7 separate regions of the Homo sapiens genome follow, and all the other regions are linked to region 5. Evidence: promoter capture Hi-C in 16 types of primary human blood cells and fetal thymus (Javierre and others, 2016). All regions are on one chromosome and are shown on one strand. Each heading gives the region's core, a stretch centred on a gene start or on the middle of the fragment in contact. The rest is flanking DNA. Distances are from core to core; before and after follow the strand shown. Region 1 overlaps C12orf56 (chromosome 12 open reading frame 56). Region 2 overlaps AVPR1A (arginine vasopressin receptor 1A). Region 3 has its middle 29 kb from the start of AVPR1A. Region 4 has its middle 3.7 kb from the start of GNS. Region 5 holds the start of RXYLT1 (ribitol xylosyltransferase 1). Region 6 has its middle 69 kb from the start of AVPR1A. Region 7 has its middle 52 kb from the start of AVPR1A.

Evidence for each region. Contacts are between HindIII fragments. The CHiCAGO score rates a contact against its expected background, and 5 or more counts as called.
Region 1: a contact is called between a fragment that was not itself captured here and the fragment with the promoter of RXYLT1 in region 5, in 1 of 17 cell types (M1 macrophages). The highest score is 6.1, in M1 macrophages.
Region 2: a contact is called between a fragment that was not itself captured here and the fragment with the promoter of RXYLT1 in region 5, in 2 of 17 cell types (megakaryocytes and fetal thymus). The highest score is 7.4, in megakaryocytes.
Region 3: a fragment that was not itself captured here is called in contact with the fragment with the promoter of RXYLT1 in region 5 in 1 of 17 cell types (megakaryocytes); the score reaches 6.1 in megakaryocytes.
Region 4: a fragment that was not itself captured here is called in contact with the fragment with the promoter of RXYLT1 in region 5 in 1 of 17 cell types (non-activated CD4 T cells); the score reaches 5.8 in non-activated CD4 T cells.
Region 6: a contact is called between a fragment that was not itself captured here and the fragment with the promoter of RXYLT1 in region 5, in 1 of 17 cell types (M0 macrophages). The highest score is 5.7, in M0 macrophages.
Region 7: a fragment that was not itself captured here is called in contact with the fragment with the promoter of RXYLT1 in region 5 in 6 of 17 cell types (megakaryocytes, M2 macrophages, M0 macrophages and 3 more); the score reaches 10.1 in megakaryocytes.

Annotation. Positions count from the first base shown.
Region 1 is chr12:64,298,161-64,300,860 of GRCh38, forward strand. The region is part of intron 6 of C12orf56 (chromosome 12 open reading frame 56); the gene reads right to left. Among named protein-coding and RNA genes, the nearest start is that of KICS2, 77 kb to the left of the region's middle. The HindIII fragment of the contact is 156 bases long and covers 1,335-1,490 here.
Region 2 is chr12:63,144,901-63,147,600 of GRCh38, forward strand. It overlaps AVPR1A (arginine vasopressin receptor 1A), which reads right to left. Exons shown (of 2, transcript NM_000706.5): 2 at 1-2,700. The coding sequence ends at 2,459. Among named protein-coding and RNA genes, the nearest start is that of AVPR1A, 5.0 kb to the right of the region's middle. The HindIII fragment of the contact is 2,488 bases long and covers 141-2,628 here.
Region 3 is chr12:63,120,616-63,123,315 of GRCh38, forward strand. No RefSeq gene overlaps it. Among named protein-coding and RNA genes, the nearest start is that of AVPR1A, 29 kb to the right of the region's middle. The HindIII fragment of the contact is 616 bases long and covers 1,081-1,696 here.
Region 4 is chr12:64,761,757-64,764,456 of GRCh38, forward strand. It overlaps a transcript of TBC1D30 not described here. Among named protein-coding and RNA genes, the nearest start is that of GNS, 3.7 kb to the left of the region's middle. The HindIII fragment of the contact is 4,032 bases long and covers 1-2,700 here.
Region 5 is chr12:63,778,560-63,781,259 of GRCh38, forward strand. RXYLT1 (ribitol xylosyltransferase 1) reads left to right here and starts at 1,350. Exons shown (of 6, transcript NM_014254.3): 1 at 1,350-1,570; 2 at 2,460-2,615. The coding sequence starts at 1,402. RefSeq lists silencers at 1,169-1,398, 1,415-1,690, 1,419-1,718. The HindIII fragment of the contact is 1,854 bases long and covers 304-2,157 here.
Region 6 is chr12:63,080,810-63,083,509 of GRCh38, forward strand. No RefSeq gene overlaps it. Among named protein-coding and RNA genes, the nearest start is that of AVPR1A, 69 kb to the right of the region's middle. The HindIII fragment of the contact is 3,980 bases long and covers 1-2,700 here.
Region 7 is chr12:63,098,147-63,100,846 of GRCh38, forward strand. No RefSeq gene overlaps it. Among named protein-coding and RNA genes, the nearest start is that of AVPR1A, 52 kb to the right of the region's middle. The HindIII fragment of the contact is 3,259 bases long and covers 1-2,700 here.

The DNA of each region.
Region 1 (2,700 bases), core at 163-2,662, 520 kb after region 5:
TGTTGGCTGCATAAATGTCTTCTTTTGAGAAGTGTCTGTTCATATCCTTTGCCCACTTTTTGATGGGGTTGTTTTTTGCTTGTAAATTTGTTTACGTCCTTTGTAGATTCTGGATATTAGCCCTTTGTCAGATGGATAGATTGCAAAAATTTTCTCTCGTTCTGTAGGTTGTCTGTTCACTCTGATGATAGTTTCTTTTGCTGTGCAGAAGCTCTTTAGTTTAATTAGATCCCATTTGTCAATTTTGGCTTTTGTTGCCATTGCTTTTGATGTTTTAGATATGAAGTCTTTGCCCATGCCTGTGTCCTGAATGGTATTGCCTAGGTTTTCTTCTAGGACTTTTATGGTTTTAGGTCTTATGTTTAAGTCTTTAATCCACCTTGAGTTAATTTTTGTATAAGGTGTAAGGAAGGGGTCCAGTTTCAGTTTTCTGCATATGGCTAGCCAGTTTTCCCAGCACCATTTATTAAATAGGGAATCCTTTCCCCATTGCTTGTTTGTGTCAGGTTTGTCAAAGATCAGATGGTTGTAGATGTGTGGTGTTATTTCTGAGGGCTCTGTTCTGTTCCATTGGTCTATATGTCTGTTTTGGTACCAGTACCATGCTCTTTTGGTTACTGTAGCCTTGTAGTATAGTTTGAAGTCAGGTAGTGTGATGCCTCCAGCTTTGTTCTTTATGCTTAGGATTGTCTTGGCTATGCGGGCTCTTTTTTGGTTCCATATGAACTTTAAAGCAGTTCTTTCCAATTCTGTGGAGAAAGTCAATAGGTAGCTTGATGGGGATAGCATTGAATCTATAAATTACTTTGGGCAGTTATGGCCATTTTCACGATATTGATTCTTCCTATCCATGAGCATGAAATGTTTTTCCATTTGTTTGTGTCCTCCCTTATTTCCTTGAGCAGTGGTTTGTAGTTCTCCTTGAAGAGGTCCTTCACATTCCTTGTAAGTTGTATTCCTAGGTATTTTATTCTCTTAGTAGCAATTGTGAATGGGAGTTCACTCATGATTTGGCTCTCTGTTTGTCTGTTATTGGTGTATAGGAATGCTTGTGATTTTTGTGCATTGATTTCGTATCCTGAGACTTTGCTGAAGTTGCTTTGATAAGCTTAAGGAGATTTGGGCTGAGACGGTGAGGTTTTCTAAATATACAATCATGTCATCTGTGAACAGAGACAATTTGACTTCCCCTTTTCCTATCTGAATTATTTCCTTCTCCATTCACTTTGGCCTTTCATTTTTGATAACTGAATTAGAAGATTTGTTTTAGCCCAGGTAAGAATATTATATTAAATAATGGCTGCAGTGTTTTCAAGTATAAAACAGATCATGAAAGCTTCATTTTTAGACATTGGATTAGGTTAATATTTCACAAGAGAACAGATTTGCAATTCAGTATGAATAACTTACAGCACCTGGAATATGCATGCATTGTGTTTTGGCCTGAGGGAGAATACAAAGATAAGTAAGACATATACTTGTCCTAAAGAAGCTTTTAGCATATTAAGATAAATAAGAAAAATGTGCCAATCACTATAGTAAAAGGGAGGATATCTGTGCTAATTCTCGATGGTAGAAACTGTATCATAATCATGCTATATTTCTAATACCTATCACCAAGCCTCACACAGATTAGGCATGAAAACTGTCTGTTAATTGTTAAAGAGGAAGTGCTATGAAAGATGTCATAGAACTACATTGTTCAACTCGGTAGCTACTGCCCACAAGTGTCTATTTAAATTAATGTAAATTTAATAAAATTAACGTTTTACTTTTTTAGTCACTAGTCACATTCAAGTGCTTAATAGCCACATGTGGCTAGTGTCTGCTGTATTGAACAATGCAGATTATAAAACTTCAAAGAAAGTTCTATGGCATGGAATTGACAGAGAAGATCAAAAGGAGGAAGGTACTAAAGTTCCCCATTAGGCATGACAGGAAAGGCAGAAAATGGCATTTGAGCTGAGCCTTGATGAATGGGTATGATTTTTAACAAGAGAAATTAGAAGAAGAGTATTCTAGAGAAAGCAAGCAGCAGGGAGAAAGGAGAGCTAAGGAGAACAAGTATCCAAGTTATCCTACATGGCTCGATCTTGTAGAGGACAGAGGTGAGAGAGAAGATGAAGTGGCGGGTCAGGTCTGTGAATCCTAACCTTACTCTCTTTCTCTCCATTCTTTTTTTGTTCCACAGCCTAGGCCACAGGTATCAGGCCTGTTTTTAAACTGAAGATGCTTAAATGACCTCCAGACTAACACTGGTGCTGATCCCATTAGGAATACACATCAACATCCTTCTTAATCTAACCCTTAAGTGGTACTTCAGTTCTCCTACCTAGACATGCACTTTAAATCCAGTCCCTGATTGTGTCCAGTGTATCTGGGTGGACTTCCCCTTTGAGCACTGTCCTAAGTCCTTTCCCAGTCCTCTCCTAACTGCTGGCTTTACTCTTGACAATCTTTATGTCCTCACATTCCATAAAACCCTGTTCCCACACCCTAAACAAGCAGATCTTCCTGGTGCCAAATGTTTGTGCAGACATCCAGTTGTAATTCACCCACATGCTAAAATATCCTGATATTTCATTTTGCTCACTCTTATGTAGAGATCACTCTCACCTTTGGGCACTGTGCCTTTTCCATGAGCATCTACATCTGGATTCATTTTCCCAGTGCCCACCTTATCCAGATGGTAGCCTGATA
Region 2 (2,700 bases), core at 135-2,634, 630 kb before region 5:
TCTCAGAAATAACATTCAAATTGAATTGTTTTGCTTGGGGGTACATATCAACATTTTGAAGCAAGATCTATAGGTTCTGAGGTTCTTACTTTGGAAATGGATTTAGAAAAAAATGGGTTCATCTTAGTTCCAAACCAAAAAGCTTTAGTTTTTGAACTATCAAAGAGTTGTTAAAAGGACTGACAGTCTTCGAGTGCTGGGTTACTGAGATGCTACTCTAACTCAAATAATGAATTAATTAATTTAGTTATGGCTTATATTGGACAGTACCCTTTAAGAGACATATTTGTTATTTTTAGAAAGAAGAATTTGAAAACCTAGGGAGTCCCTAGGTTTATAATCTCTATAAAGCATTTGGAAACATGTTTTTAGGCCTATCAATACAAGGAGCCTAAGGGCTGAGAATTTCAAAAGGCAGAAGAATGAAGAGGAGTGAAGTTATCGCTTCCGGGTTCTCACAGTGCTATCCAGTTCTCATTTTCTTATCTACAAAGGTAAAAAAAGAAACTCAATAATACTATTAAAACCATGCTGGCCAACATGGTGAAACCCCATCTCTACTAAAAATATAAAAATTAGCTGGGTGTGGTGGCACATGCATATAGTCCCAGCTACTCGGGAGGCTGAGGCAGGAGAATCGCTTGAACCCAGGAAGCGGAGGTTGCAGTGAGCCGAGATCACGCCACTGCACTCCAGCCTGGCAAAAGAGCAAGACTCTGTTTCAAAAAAAAAAAAAGCAACTATTACTTCCTCTTAAGGATGCAAAATATTTATGATGTATCCTCAAATCATTGCATGATCTCTAAGAAGAAGAAGCAGCCAGACAAAATAGCTAGGAAAAAAATCACTGAGTTCCATTAATGAAAAATGTAATAACAGCAAAGTAGTGTAATTGGTCTCCGTTTAAAAATGGAAAAAATTGATGCTTGTGGGTGGCTTTGATCTACCTGCATTCAAAGAAAAGCAAGTTCTGTCTTTAAATTGGAAAACTTTAGTCAGGCAGGAGAAGTCAAGCTGAGCAGTCACTGGAAATGTTGTCCAATGAATCAGCGATCTATATTTAAATTTTAGGATTTTATATCCCAGCCATGAAATGAACCAATTCTAGTTAATGAAAAATAAACTGGAAAACATCTGTGCAATTTTGGAGATCCCAAGGCTATAATAAAAGCAACTGCTAGCATGTGTATAGTACTTTACTATTTCTGAAGCTCTTTTAACATATTTGATTTCATTTAGTCCTTACAACAACCCTGTGAGGTAAGTGTTATCAACCCCACGGTAAGTCAAGGAAACAGAGGCTTTATATGTGTTTAAGAAACTTGCCTAAAGTTGTGGATTTAATAATGAAGGAAGCCAGTCTGGGCACAGAGCAGTTCTCTTTCCATCTGTCACCCATGTCCCAACCCTGTCTCATCTCTGCTTTGCAATTGTTAGATGAGTGAGAGATTGGAAAGACAAAGCTATTTTTAATTAAACATGTTGGGACACTTTATATCCTGAGTCACTCTTTAGGATACTCATATTATGAATCTGAATTCCCCAAACATGAAGATAATGATCTTGTTAATGTCCAGCATAGCACAGGATACCCTTGTAACACTGATCAAAATACGTTTACAATGTCCAAGAGAAAGTCCAGAGTACCTTAAGCAATCCTTTTCTACTCTTTTAATAAAATTTGGCTTTCCTTATACAAATCTGACTTTAAAACAACCTCGCAGTGGGGGAAAAAAGATATTTTTGGCCAGTCAACATTTCCTCTCACCTTCAGCATCTCAGTTTTCATGCTTTTCTTGACCAATAATATGTGAGGAACCAAAAGGAGGCCACTGCCAGTTGTAAAGTTACCATTTTGAAATGCAAGGTGATTGATAGCTTCTAATAGAACTCTAAACTGGCCACAATGAGCAGGAGCTCATTACACCCCAGGCACTTGTACTCCTAGGAGGTACCATCCCATCTCCTGGACACTGTTTAAGGCTGCATTTTCTGATGCACAAATTAATTTTAATGGATGAAAACATAATTTCTCTGAAGTTTTCTCTGAATATTAAGACTGATGATGAGCTCTCTTTGTTCAGAAATAGTGCCGCATTTTATGTGACTTTTAAACCAATCAAGTCTTACTTATGTTAGAAATGAAAATAAAAGAAACTAACAACAAAATATAAAGCTAGGGTGGTTATGATTTTTCCTTTAAAAATATAACTTCTGTTGTATTTCTGGGAATCAGACCTGCATATTTTAGTACAGCATGTTTCCATTAATATTCCATACAAAATAATGTCTAGTTTTTGGTAGCAATATGAAAATGCAACTAGAAACACAGTCTCATACACAATGAATTGATTTATGGTTATATTAATAAAGTGTATTTGTTCTTGTGATTTCTAGCTCAATTCAGCTAATGAGCCAAAAAGTCAATCACAAGAATCAAGTTGCATGAATGCAAGGCTCAAGTTGAAACAGGAATGAATTTGATGGACTTGGAAGATTTAGGCGAGTCCTTCCACATACCCGTACTGTTTGTTGGGCTTCGATTGTTAGAATAAAAAGTCTGTCTTCTGCTCATACTGTCAGTATCTTCTTTGTTGAATTTTTCCTTCATGTTTTGGCAGCATGGGAAGCTTTGAACACAGTCTTGAAGGAGATGGCCACTAAAAAACATGTATATCCAGGGATTACAGCAGCTATTCA
Region 3 (2,700 bases), core at 139-2,638, 660 kb before region 5:
ATGCGTATGGCCTTTCTGATGAGCAGAACTGGGTTGGATTGCTAGCTTTAAGACCCTTGCAAGTTGCTTAACTTCAAGTCTCAGTTTCCTTACCTTTGAAGATGGAACAATAATTCCAACCTTACAACATCATCATGAAGATTAAAGAAGCTCTCAGATGTAAAACAAACAATTAAGAGTAGTAAATATCACTAGGCACAGTGGCTCATGCCTGTAATCCCAACACTTTGGGAGGTCGAGGTGGGCAGATCAGGAATTGTGGAGTTCAAGACCAACCTGGCCAGCATGGTGAAGCCCAATCTCTACTAAAAATACAAAAATTAGCCGGGTGTGGTGGTGCGCACCTGTAGTCCCCGCTACTTGGGAGGCTGAGGCAGGAGAGTTGCTTGAACCTGGGAGGCGGAGGTTGCAGTGAGCCAAGATCACGTCACTGCGCTCCAGCCTGGGTGACAAGGCAAGACTCCATCTCAAAAAAAAAAAAAAAAAGGTAGTAAATATCATGAGACATTCTGGTATAATCTTCTACTCTCCCTTCTTTTTCTTCCCAATATCTAGTCTTTGACAAAGTCCGGTAATTTTTTTTGTAAATATCTCAGATATCTTCCTCTATATTCGTATTCTATTAGCTTATTATATTATACTTGGATTACTGCAAATATCTCTGGGCTGGTATCTGTCTCTTCCCTTATACAAATCATTTTTCCCCCTTAATATTGAAAGGTAATTCTGAGATTCTAGAACACTAATTTCCATATGCCATTTCCTTGCTTTAGATATTTGACCTAATTTTTTCAGACCTGTTTAATCACCAGTTTAGCTTTCAGGACCCTCTCTAGAGGTGGTCATGTGTTATTGTGGAAAGTACAGATTTTGGATTCAAACAAATGCAGATTCAAACCTTGGGTATACCATCTATAAGATGTTGAAAAGTAACCTGACCTTGCAGTCTCAGTTTCCTCAACTATAAAATAGTGTCTACTTGTGTGGTAAAGGGTTAATCCAGCAGGTCTGCACAGTCTAAATCCTGCACATTCCAAAGAAAGGTTTAGTCCTTACTCTACTCCTGGGAGATAACCTCTAAGCTTCTAGAATATACTGCCTGTTAAGAATGTTTTTGTTTATCTAAGCCCTTGGGCTACACCAAATAGTTTAAGCTAAGAAAGTGGGAAATGTGTGATTAAATCTGAGAGTTGTCTTGGTGACTTCAAAACTACTTCTAGAATTTTTATAAGAATTAAATGAGATAGTTTATAAAAAGCATTTGGACAGTGCGTAGGGTGTTTCTCTCCTTTACAGGCTTTGTAAGCACTCCCCCATCTATCCAGGCTTATACTGCACCTGTCTGTTTTCCTGCTTTTATCTTCTGTGTCATTGAGGCTGCATTTCACACTCAATACTAATGAGTTCTTGCCTATGCTGTCCTGATTGCCTGGACCACCCTGCTTTTTTCTTCTGTCGAAACAAAGCCTGTGTGTTGAAGTCCTCTCTTTTCTATGGATCCTCCACTGATTATTGCAGTCTTTGCTAATTTCTTTCTTTCCCTATTTTTAATTGTACTTTTAGCTGGTAATAGGAGCTGGGTGATACATTATGCATCTATATATAGGGTCTTAACTTGGAGGGAATGGAGTATGTTTTATTTTTCTTGGCCTCCCCATTGGTAGATGCTCAGTAGTTGACTTACAGATTTACTCTAAGCTTCTGACTTTGACCTCAAACACCATCTGGAGTATGTAACTTAGGTTGATGATAGTTGCCCTTGTTCTCAATTACCTAGGTACTTTCAACGTCCTAGTCCTTTTGCTGCTGTGTGCTCTTTGACCCTTCTGCTATGGGCCACGCAGGTGTTGACAGCAACAAAGATCACCTTCTCTCCTCTTCTTCACTCATTGGGTCTAGAAGGCCCTGAGGTTGCACATGCCTCACCTGTGCGGGAGTGTGCATATTGTGTGAGTCCAGCTGGGCCACTGTGACCAAGTTCATGTTGCCAATTTATTGAAACATCTCACTCCTTAGGGCACAACCACAAAATGCCTTTTGTTCCCCAATAACTGCTTTCTAACTGGGCCATGTTGAACCCACTTTCCAGTGGGGAGCAGTTCCTTTAATTACAAGTTGGCCAGATTTTGTAAGTTGCAGTGATGTTTAAAAAAGTAATTTTAACCCTATGCAGTTTAAAATTTCAATCTCAACTTAACTCAGAGCTCTCCTTCCTTTCCACTAATAAAGACCAAACCTGCCACTGGCTTTAATTGGTGGTGAGGGGGTTGTCTCATTACAAACTTATCCCTCCTCCCTTTTTGAGGGCTAGCTCTTCCAGTTCTTGGGTCAGGGAGAAGAGCAAAAAGAGGAAATATCTCTTACTCCTCTGGACAGGGTTGCAGTCTTCTCCCCGAATGGCAGACAGTTTTCCTGGTTACTACTGATTTGCTATTGATCACATTTCTGAAACGCCTGTCCAAATGTTGACTCTATCATGGCAGGCATCTCGGAGTACTGTGAAGGGTCCCAAAAGGCTTCCGCCTGTGAAGTTCCCTGACATGAGAAAGGGCTGGCTTCATTGGTATGGGAACTGTGGGAACCTAGGGACACAGGGCCTCAAGTTCAGAATTCTTCCCATCCCTCTTGAAGTTTAATGGTCTGCAGTTGCCATCCTAAAATTCTTAATTTTACCTTTAAGTTCATGTTTTGTAAGTGAAG
Region 4 (2,700 bases), core at 28-2,527, 980 kb after region 5:
TCTGCCTATGGAGTAGCCATTCTTTTATTCCTCTACTTTCTTAATAAACTTTCTTTCACTTTACTCTATGGTCTTGTCCTGAATTCTTCCTTGCTCGAGATCCAAGAACCCTTTCTTGATGTCTGGATCAGGACCCCTTTCCGGTAACACTGCTACACTAGTGCTGAAGAGACATTGTCCCTCGTTCATGGAATTTGCAGTCTAATGGCAGAGAGATGGACAATCTAATCTTGTATCTTGTATATGATTACAAATAGACATGCTATGAAGGAAAAGTAAAGGGTGCAATGAGCATTTAAGGTGGTGGGAGGCTGATTTAGTCTAAGGTGCCCTGAGGAAGTGATCTTTGAGTGAAATCTGAAGTTTGAGTAGGAGATAATTTGTTAATGGAGTATTGGGGTGGTGGAATGTCTCCTAAGCACAGAGTACAGCATATGCAAAGGTTCTGAGCTGGTGCATTGCAATAACTAAAAGAAGCCAGTGTGGTTAGAGCAGAGGGAGAGAGGTGGTGAGGACCCAGATCCTATTTTAAGGACTTGGGTTTTTATAGTAAGGCTAATTGGAAATTACTGAAAGAATGTAAGATAAATATAATCATACATGAACTTTTAGAAGATCCTTTAGACTGTGGCATGAAGAACAGATTGGAAGAGGACAAGCATGGGTGAGGGTAGACCAATTAGGTAGAGAGAAAAGTGGATAACAGGGACAGATTCAAATTTTGTGGGGCCTGAAGTTTATGTGCATTTGGCGAGTGGAGGCTCCTTAAGAAAAAGAATAACAATTTTAGATACAAAAGTAGGTACACAACTGAATATGTATTTAGACTAAAACAAAATATAACGTTATAAATTTTTAAAAGTTGAAAAATATTACAAATAATGCAAAAATTTAACGTAACATATTTTTATTAAGTAACTGCCAGGCATACTTCTTCATACTTTTTTCCCCTTACATTATATGGCTATGTGCTCTTTAATCATCTCTTCATATGATGTTAGTTTATAATATTTTCTAAAGAAAATAGAAAGATAATTTAGTTTTTTCTCTAGTGTGTTTGATCAGTATTTGCCTTTTATTGGTGATAATTCAGAAAAATTATTTTTCACCTCAGTTCATTATTGGTTTTATATATATGTTTAGTATTTTTGTCAAATTTCAGAAAACTCTATCAAATATCCTCTTAACATAGGCATTTCGTGACATTCTGCATTTTATTTTGTATTATTTTATTTTTTGAGATGGAGTCTTGATCTGTCTGCGCTCTTGGCTCACTGCAACCTCCACGTCCCAGGTTCAAGCAATTCTCCTGCCTCAGCCTCCTGAGTAGCTGGGATTACAGGCATGCGTCACTATGCCCGGCTAATTTTTGTATTTTTAGTAGAGATGGGGTTTCGCCATGTTGGCCAGGCTGGTCTCGAACTCCTGACTTCAGGTGATCTACCCGCCTCAGCCTCCCAAAGTGCTGGGATTATAGGCGTGAGTTTTATGTTATCTTCCTCAATGCTAGTGTGAGATCAAATCGAAAGAAATTTGAATATTTTTCAATGAGTTTATATAATTCACAAGTTGTCAATTTAATAGCCTATTTATTACTTTCATTTGCAGTTTATCTCTTCCTCTTTCCAGCTTTATTGAGATATAATTGACAACAAAATTATGTGTATTTAAGGTGTACAACATGATGTTTTCATATACGTATAGAGTGTGAAATGATTATTCTCTTCCTCTTAATGAATTACTGTTTTTCTTATGATTTAAACTTTTTTTGGTTACTCTTTACTTCTTAATGTCAGGATAATTTCTCTTTACTTTCTCATTCATCTTTATCACTTTGGTTTTGTATCCTATTAATTTTTTTTTTTTTTTTTGAGACAGAGTCTTGCTCTGTCACCAGGCTAGAGTGCAGTGGCATGATCTCGGCTCACTACAACCTCCACCTCTCAGGTTCAAGCGATTCTCCTGCCTCAGCCTCCCAAGTAGCTGGGATTACAGGTGTACACCACCACATCCAGCTAATTTTTGTATTTTTAGTAGAGACAGTGTTTCACCATATTGGTCTGGTCTCGAACTCCTGACCTCAGGCTGGTCTTGAACTCCTGACCTCAGGTGATCCACCCACCTTGGCCTCCCAAGGTGCTGGGATTACAGGCGTGAGCCACCATGCCCAGCCTAGCCAAGCTGTTTTTTAAAGAGCATGCAGCCCTTTTTCCTAATCATTATAATAGCTGTGTTAACAGATGACTGATTATAAATGCTGTTTAACCACAGGTTAAAATAACAATCTTGTTTTACTTTGTTGAATAATGTCTCAGATGTTTTCAGTTGGCTAAAAATATTTAAAAATTGCTCATAGGTTTTCCTGTTAGAAAGTAGTGCCCAATAATTGCCAACTCATCAGTGGTTGTCATATCCAGAATAGAATACATAATAGTATTTGGTGTTTGGTTATGTGTTTGACTTACCACTTTTTAAACATTTTTTTCATTATTTCAATTTTTTCCATAAATTGTTTTAGTAAAATAAGTTGTGTTTTCATTTTGACATGTTTTTCCAAGAGCTTAAGCAAAAATGCATCCAATTCAGCTATTAGTTGAAAAATTCCTGTGGAATTTTCATTATAGGAACAATAGTACTTTTCATCATGACCTCTGAAGTGTAACTTTCACTTAACGTTTAATAACCTCAAAACTTCCATCT
Region 5 (2,700 bases), core at 100-2,599:
CCCTATTCAAGATGACATCAACTGCATATTAGTTTTACCTTGTATGCATTTCTCAATAGTAAAACCATTAGTCAGTAGCATCTGAATGTACATTGATACAGTGGGTGTTTTGTGGTAATTATAAGGTAATTACTTCCTATCCTTAAATAATTGTCATTTCCACAAACAAACAAAATAGGATAAACAACAATACAGCATACATAAAACAACTGCCATCTCCCTAAGACACCAGAATAGCCTGTTAATCAAGGAAAGCTAAATTTATTAAATCTACTACAGTAAGGGAGGCCACACTTTGACAGAAGCTTGGCAGTCTCAGAAGGAGAAGGTTGGGGGTGATATTTATAGGATTTGGGGAGTCTGAGCAAAAATGGTTTAAAACAGGTCTTTTGAGGCAGGGAACTGTTTGGGGGATTGGGTAAAGTGTTTGACCTAATAGTTTAGGGTCGGTGCTAGAGTGACCAATTTTACTGATTTCCTAGGACTTTCTCAATTTTAGCACTAAAAATCCTCCAACTGGAGAATCCTTACAGTCCTGGGCAAACTGGGACCATTGGTCACCCTAATTAGCAGACATACCGTCGCAAGACTGCTGGGTAATTTGAACAGTAGTACCAGAGCAACTGACAAAACATTGTAGCCCATCTTCCCAAGGCTGGATACAAAGTTTTCTGAAGCATTCACATTTACAGCCTCTATTTGACAAAATACTGCATGCCTATGTGCGTTCAACTCACATAATAATGAAACTTAACTTTAAAAATGTTTTTATTGCAGTAAGGTATATAAAACATGAATTCGACAGTTTAACTATTTCTATGCATACAAGTGAGTGGTATTAATTACATTCACAATGTTAAGCGACCATCATCACTTAATTTTTTTAAAGGACGTTTATATTCACTCATCTATCAACGTAGTAGGCACTGTCCTAGGCGCTAGGGATTCCATGCAGAGCAAAAAACGTCACAGTCCATGCCTTCACATGGCCTTCATGGACCACCGCGGGTGTTCTTTTTCCCCCGAGTCTTTATGTACTTGGGAAAAGTGGCCAGGGTTGAAAGGTGCAATGAGTACACGGCAGAGGTCAGAGAGGTTCCCACTCAGCCCGGCGTCTGGAAGCAGCGTGGGGTAGGGGCCGCTCCAGTACCCCCTCCTCCAGTGTCGAAGGTGGGCAGGCCCTCGGCCGGGTGGATGAGCCGCGACTGGAGGGGGCGGGGCCTGGGCGGGAGGCGGGCGGTGGGCGTGTCCGGGGCGGGGCTGTACCGGGCGCTGGGCGGAGGAGCCTTGGCTGGGGACTGCCTGGAAACGGGCTGGGCCTGCCTCGGACGCCGCCGGTGTCGCGGATTCTCTTTCCGCCCGCTCCATGGCGGTGGATGCCTGACTGGAAGCCCGAGTGGGATGCGGCTGACGCGGAAGCGGCTCTGCTCGTTTCTTATCGCCCTGTACTGCCTATTCTCCCTCTACGCTGCCTACCACGTCTTCTTCGGGCGCCGCCGCCAGGCGCCGGCCGGGTCCCCGCGGGGCCTCAGGAAGGGGGCGGCCCCCGCGCGGGAGAGACGCGGCCGAGGTAGGACTGGGTCGGCGGCTTCCTTCCGGCTCTGCGCTCCTGGCTGGGGCTGCTGGGCGGCTGGGGCCGGGTCCCCGCACCCGGCTCTCAAGTCCGGGATTACCCGCAGGGCCTGAGAAGCGCTTTGCCCCCTACAGCCTCTCGAGCCAGCCCTTGGCTCGGAATTGGAGAATGGTCCTCATTCTTACCCAGATCTCACACGCCGTCCCCGCTCCCGATCCCAGGGGGTGACAGGCGCGCACGCCTTTCAAACACGTGTTAAAATCCAAGACGTCGTCTCAAATGCCAGAGATTTGCGGGAATGCTCCTGGAAGGCCTCAAAATCGCCGCAAGGTTTAAGACATCCGTTTCCATGTTGAAACAAAGCCCTCTCTAATCCTGCAGTGACCATAAGGCAGACTTTACCTCCAAATTCTGGTCCCCTGTCCTGTGTTTTAACTTGTGTTAAGATCAGACTCGGCTTTCTCTTTCCCTTTATTCAGAATTTTGCACGATAGTATCTAAGACTGGTGAACACTACACTCTGAAGTCAGTTTTTTGTGCATAGGTTACCTGTATACAATGGATAAAAATAATTGCAAAAGTTAAGCTTGTAACTTGATACATATTATCCTGTTATTTTTAAAGGTTTTGTGTTGGGGAAGAGAATTTTCCTGTCTCAAGGTAGCATTTTATTTCTAAGACTTTTCAGAGTAAAAAAAGTTCAGTAAAAAAATTGCTGATTTTCTTTTTTGTTTTCATTGTGTATTACCAGTTTAAATTCAGTTGCTGTACCTCTCAGAAATTAAAGTTAGGATGAAATTAGAACTAACACTTAATTTAAATGATTTGAATTTACCTACAACTGCAATAATACCTTACTGGTAAACACTTACTCTTTTTAAAACAGAACAGTCCACTTTGGAAAGTGAAGAATGGAATCCTTGGGAAGGAGATGAAAAAAATGAGCAACAACACAGATTTAAAACTAGCCTTCAAATATTAGATAAATCCACGAAAGGAAAAACAGATCTCAGTGTACAAATCTGGGGCAAAGCTGCCATTGGTAAGTTAATACGTAGAAGGAAGACATGTAAAAAGCATTATAAAATGTATTTTATTGATATGAAATTCATTTTAATATAATTTAT
Region 6 (2,700 bases), core at 88-2,587, 700 kb before region 5:
CTATATATGGCTGCATAGGTGGTTTCCTAAACAACTCTGGAGACAACATTCATATTAACTAGTATGAAAGAGGCACATCTTGTAGTTGGGTGCTGCACAGCTCCCCCACAATTGCATGTTGTGGCCCTGGGTCTATCACGGACATGTTTTGGTTATTCCAAGAATTACAAGGTTAGTCTTTCTTGCAAATTGAGGTAACTATCCCAGCACACTGAGGGTGCTCATTGGCCACATAATTTTGGATTGGTCTTAGGTATGATTCTGTCCTCGTCACTGACCTATATGAGCCATTTATTTTTTATTCTGTGACTTTCAAATGGTGTGATCTTCCAATACACATGTCCCGGATTCACATTGAGCATTATCTAATTTTTCTGTCTGATTTGAGTCTGCAAGTCTCAACCCAGGTGACTTCACCACTTGATTGAATTAAACGAATCTCTTTATTGTCTGCATCATCTCAGCTCTTCCTTCCTGGCCAGGCCGCAAGCCTTAAGGCTATCTAAATGTCCTTAGTTTGAATCCTGAATATCTGTCTGTCTTTGTGAATGTAGCACAATAGTGGTCATGGATGAAGGTACAGTGACATAAAAAGAGGTTGAACAGGGTCCTGGCACTGAGAAAGGTGGGTTAGGTTTTGAAAGGCTTGAAACAGGAGGCCAACTTGATCTAGTGTGAGTTCTAAAAAGATCTTCCTGGCTGAGGTACAAAGAATGAATTGGAGTGGGGCAGGTGGGAATGCAGGGAGATGAGTAAAAAGCCTATTGCCAGGTCCAGATAGAGAAAGAGTGGCTTGGATTAGTGACAATGGAAACAGAGAAAAGTGGATGGATTTGAGAAAGATTTTGGAAATAAAATTCATGGAACTTGGTGGTGACTGGATCTAGGGAGTAAGGAAGGGGAGATGTAAGGAAAGATGGCTGAATAGCTGGTGGATTGTGGTGATGATGGCTGTGCACATTGGTAGTAGCAATGATGAGGCAGCGGAGGGAGAGAATAGGAGCAAGGAAGGACCACGAATTCAATTTGAGGTGCCTGTAAGAAAGAATCCAAGTGATGAGACTGAATAAGCATTAGATGTTTGGTTGGAGAAATGCTAATTGTAATTAGAGCAAACATAGGGTACTTAATTTTTTTAATGCAGTCCTCAATAAGTGAGGGTGGAGTGGAAGAAAACAAGGTAAAATAAAGGCAAAAAATCATTTGTTCATCTCTCTATGCCTAGGTTCATTCAAATAGATTCATTCAATTATCCAGAATCTTGCCTATGCAGATATTATTGTAGATTCTGAGTAAAGTGGTGAACTAGAGAAAGTTCCTACCCTCAAATTTCCTATTCTCAGTGGAAGTAAATTCACAATGTTGAGATTAAATAGTTAATGCCATCTTTAGGAAAAAATATACAGATCACATTTGGTTTTATTTTATTTTACTTTACTGTTTTAGACATGTCACATTTATTTTGCTTTTCCTGTTATTTTGTAGGACTTTGTCTAAGTGCTCTATTGGCTAATAGTTCATAAGTTCATAATTTTGCTAGTTTCTATAAGACGTTTATAGTTGTGTACCTAGAAATGTTGATTGGTATGTTATTTCTCTTATATATTCTTGTTTGTTTTTGAGATGGAGTTTTGCTCTGTTGCCCAGGCTGGAGTGCAGTGGTGCGATCTCAGCTCACTACAACCTCCGCCTCCCAGGTTCAAGAGATTACCCTGCCTCAGCCTCCGGAGTAGCTGGGATTACAGGCACCCACCATCATGCCCAGCTAATTTTTGTATTTTTGTAGAGACAAGGTTTTATCATGTTGGCCAGGCTGTTCTTGAACTCCTGACCTCAGGTGATCCGCCCGCCTCGGCCTCCCAAAGTGCTGGGACTACAGGTGTGAGCCACCACGCCTGGCCTATATTCTTTCTTGAACTTTAATAGCAGCAAAAATCCTCCTAGATGTTATATACTAGATGAAGAAATATGCCACCAGGATAGGCTTTGTGTGTGTAAAATAAATTTAGTACCCAAAATATGCCACTGAAATTTTTCATATAGCAGTCTCATAAATGTAATTTTAAAATAGTCAATAAAACTTTAAGATGGGAGTACTAGATTTTAGTATATAAAACTAAATTCTATAAAAAAGTATGCCTCCCTGATACATCTACTTAGCTTGAAATCACGACATATCATGTTTAAAACAAAAATAATCTTGACAGTAGAAAGAGGATGTTCTTCTTGTTCCAAATTACATTCATATACATTTTGGTAAACAAGTTGTAACTGAATACATCTAAGTTTTAAAATTCTCTTGTTTAGAAATGTGCACACTTGCACATAGGAAGAGGAAGTTGAATTGCTTTACACCGAACAAGATAAACACATTTATGACCCAGCCTGAAAGTCTTTGTGAGACAGGTGGACTTTGAGACTTTTAGTGTGATAATGATACATTGTTGACTACTGTTGATAATATTAACTATTGACTATTAAGTTGTTAATAGTAACTGGACAGGGAGGGATTCATCCTGCCCAGGCAAATCCAAATGCTAAATAAACATTTACTGAGCACTCGGGTGTGTCAGGCATTAGGACAAGAACTTGGTCTACAAGAAAATGCAAAAGTTCATAATTCAGACAGAATTTCTTTCCTCAGTATCTGTCCACTAAACGTATAGGAATGAACCCTATCATATGATTTATAGTGCACAT
Region 7 (2,700 bases), core at 84-2,583, 680 kb before region 5:
TTTTTTCAGTTAAATTATGTTAAAAAGCTCATCAGAAAGTTTCATTGTTTAAAATTTGACATTTCAAGCATTTATGAAGTTTTAATGGTTGTGGTGGGAAATTGTTAACTGGTACTTTTGGAAATTTCAGGCTAAAGGAATATCTTGAGCTTTCATTGTGTAATTGTGAGTGGGACCAGTACCAGAACCGTTTTCTGAGGAAAGCTGGACCCAGACCAGGGGACTCCCTCAGCCTATTTCTGTGCAAAGGTAAGGTAGATCTCCATAAAGAACATGAGCCCTGGCTTGGCATCTTGATTTTTGCAAGATAACATGCTTGTGCTATCTTCTCCTCAGCTGCTCAATGAATCTTTTTTTTTTTTTTTAGAAGAGGGTCTCACTGTGTTGCCCAGGCTGGAGCGCAGCCACGATTCACAAGGATGAGCATAGCACACTGCAGCCTCGAACTCCTGGGTTCAAGTGATCCTCCCACTTCAGCCTCCCAAGCAGCTGGTACTACAGGCATGCACCACCATGCCTCGCTTTGCTAAATCTTATTGAATTATTTTTGCCAGGAAGCATAAATCCAAATTCCTGGTGACCAACTCTCAAAGGAGTGCCTTGAGGACAGGAGCCACTGATTTCTCCTTGTGTTTCAAATTCTATCCCAGAAACAAGCCAAATCATGAGGACCAGCATAGTATGGGTCTTCATGACGCACACTTTCTGAATTGATCTCAGATGCTCTGGCTCTTGCATCTTGTTGGGCTAACTAAATAGCTGGGTGATGATCACTGTTGAATTTATACCCACTGGCAAGTCTCCTCCTTTGTGTCTTGTATAAAGCCTATTTTGCCTGCTGTTTGGTGGGTAACAGTTGCAGTGGCAGAAACCAGGGGAGTTTGCCTTATGTTCTCTGGTCTTGGTGGCCACCTGCTGGTTGGTTATTCCCTCTGATTGGTCATTTGCCATTAAGTGGGTTGGTGACAATGGATATTTGTGGAACAGTTGTCCACCATTTTCTGAATACCTACTCAAAGATCTGTTACTGAACGCCAGGGGTTTGGTCTAGGTCCCATTGTTTGCCCCACAAAAAGAAACAACGTGTGTTGCCAGGGAACAAGGCTTTATTATTTTATGGGTGATGTCAACCAGGGAGATGGGAGCCAAGTCTCAAATCCATCCCTCCCTCTCAACTAAGGTCAGGGGTTTACATAGCTGGGAAGGAAAACAGAAGGGGCAAGGAAGAGGAGTTGGTCAACAGGCAGCAGGTGGTTGAATGAAGGGTCCAGCGTCTTATTGTAACCACGTATAAGAAAATAGGAATTAGGGAGGGGTAAGAAGGGGAATTGATCAACAGGCAACAGATGCATCTCATTGTCTGGGTGCAGTGATCTAGAAAGCCTCAGCTCCCCGATGGCATCTGAGAGGCCTGGCGATCGGTTTCCTGAGAAAAGATGGAAGTGTAAAATTGGGCTGGCTTCGGATCTTTTCTTCTGATTGTTGCCTTGTTTCCTAAATATCTCCTCCCACGGTCCTCCTTGTGGTTCCCTTCCACAGTCCTCATTGCTCAGTACTGCCTCTTTTCTTTTTTCTTTTCTTTTCTTTGAGACACACTCTCGCTGTGTCACCCAGGCTGGAGTGCAGTGGGACGATCTCAGCTCACTGAAACCTCTGCCTCCCAGGTTCAAGTGATTCTCCTGCTTCAGCCTCATGAGCAGCTGGGACTACAGGCACACGCCACCATGCCCGGGTAATTTTTGTATTTTTAATAGAGATGAGGTTTCACCATGTTGGCCAGGCTGGCCTTGAACTCCTGACCTCGAGTGATCTGCCTGCCTCGGCCTCCCAAAGTGCTGGGATTACAGGCATGAGCTACCGCATCCAGCCCAGCATGGCCCATTTCTTCCACAGAACAACATCATTCATGAGGGATAAAAGCATTCTGGTCCCAGGCCCTTCTGCTTTCTCAGGCTTCTCTCTCCTGGCTCTCACCAGTCTCTGTATCCACTCCAACTTCTACTGACTTCTCAGGAGGGAAAGCTGAACACTAGTCTCAGTTTAGGCAAGGAGGAGGCAGTGGTGGAGCTTTAGCTCTATTTGAGGTATCTAAAGCCAAGCATGTTTCCCTATTAGGCTCAACTACCCATTATGTACAAATGGGACTTCAACACACATGTCAAGTACAGTGGAACCAAACCTAGTTTAATCTAGGCTTAATTCCAGTTGGAAGTGAGGATTTCTACTTTCACATGCTTCTTCCTGTCTCAAATCTCAGCTCTAGATCTCCTAAAACCAGTTGTTCAAATGGCTTGGGGCATTTTTTTCAAGATGATTTCCACGGGAAAAATTATACAATTTTGATAAGAGATTTAAAAAGAGAACCTGAATTAATGGAGAGACATATCATGTTTATGGAAAGGAAAAAAAATATAATAAAGACACCAATTGTTCCCAACTTGAATTATAGATTCAATGCAATTGAAATCAAAACCGTAAAACTTTCTATGCTTATTTCACCACTTATATGGAAGGGTAAAGGGTCAAAAGTAGCCAGAATGCTTCTGAAGTAGCAGGTATCAGAACTTACTATGAAGCTGTTGAAGGAAACTAAAATATTTCACTCCCAAATATATTTTCTTGATTTATTTTGAAATGGCTGCTGCAGGGCCAGCAGATTGAGTTGGGAGGGTATTGCATCTGTAGAGAATCCTCATTAAT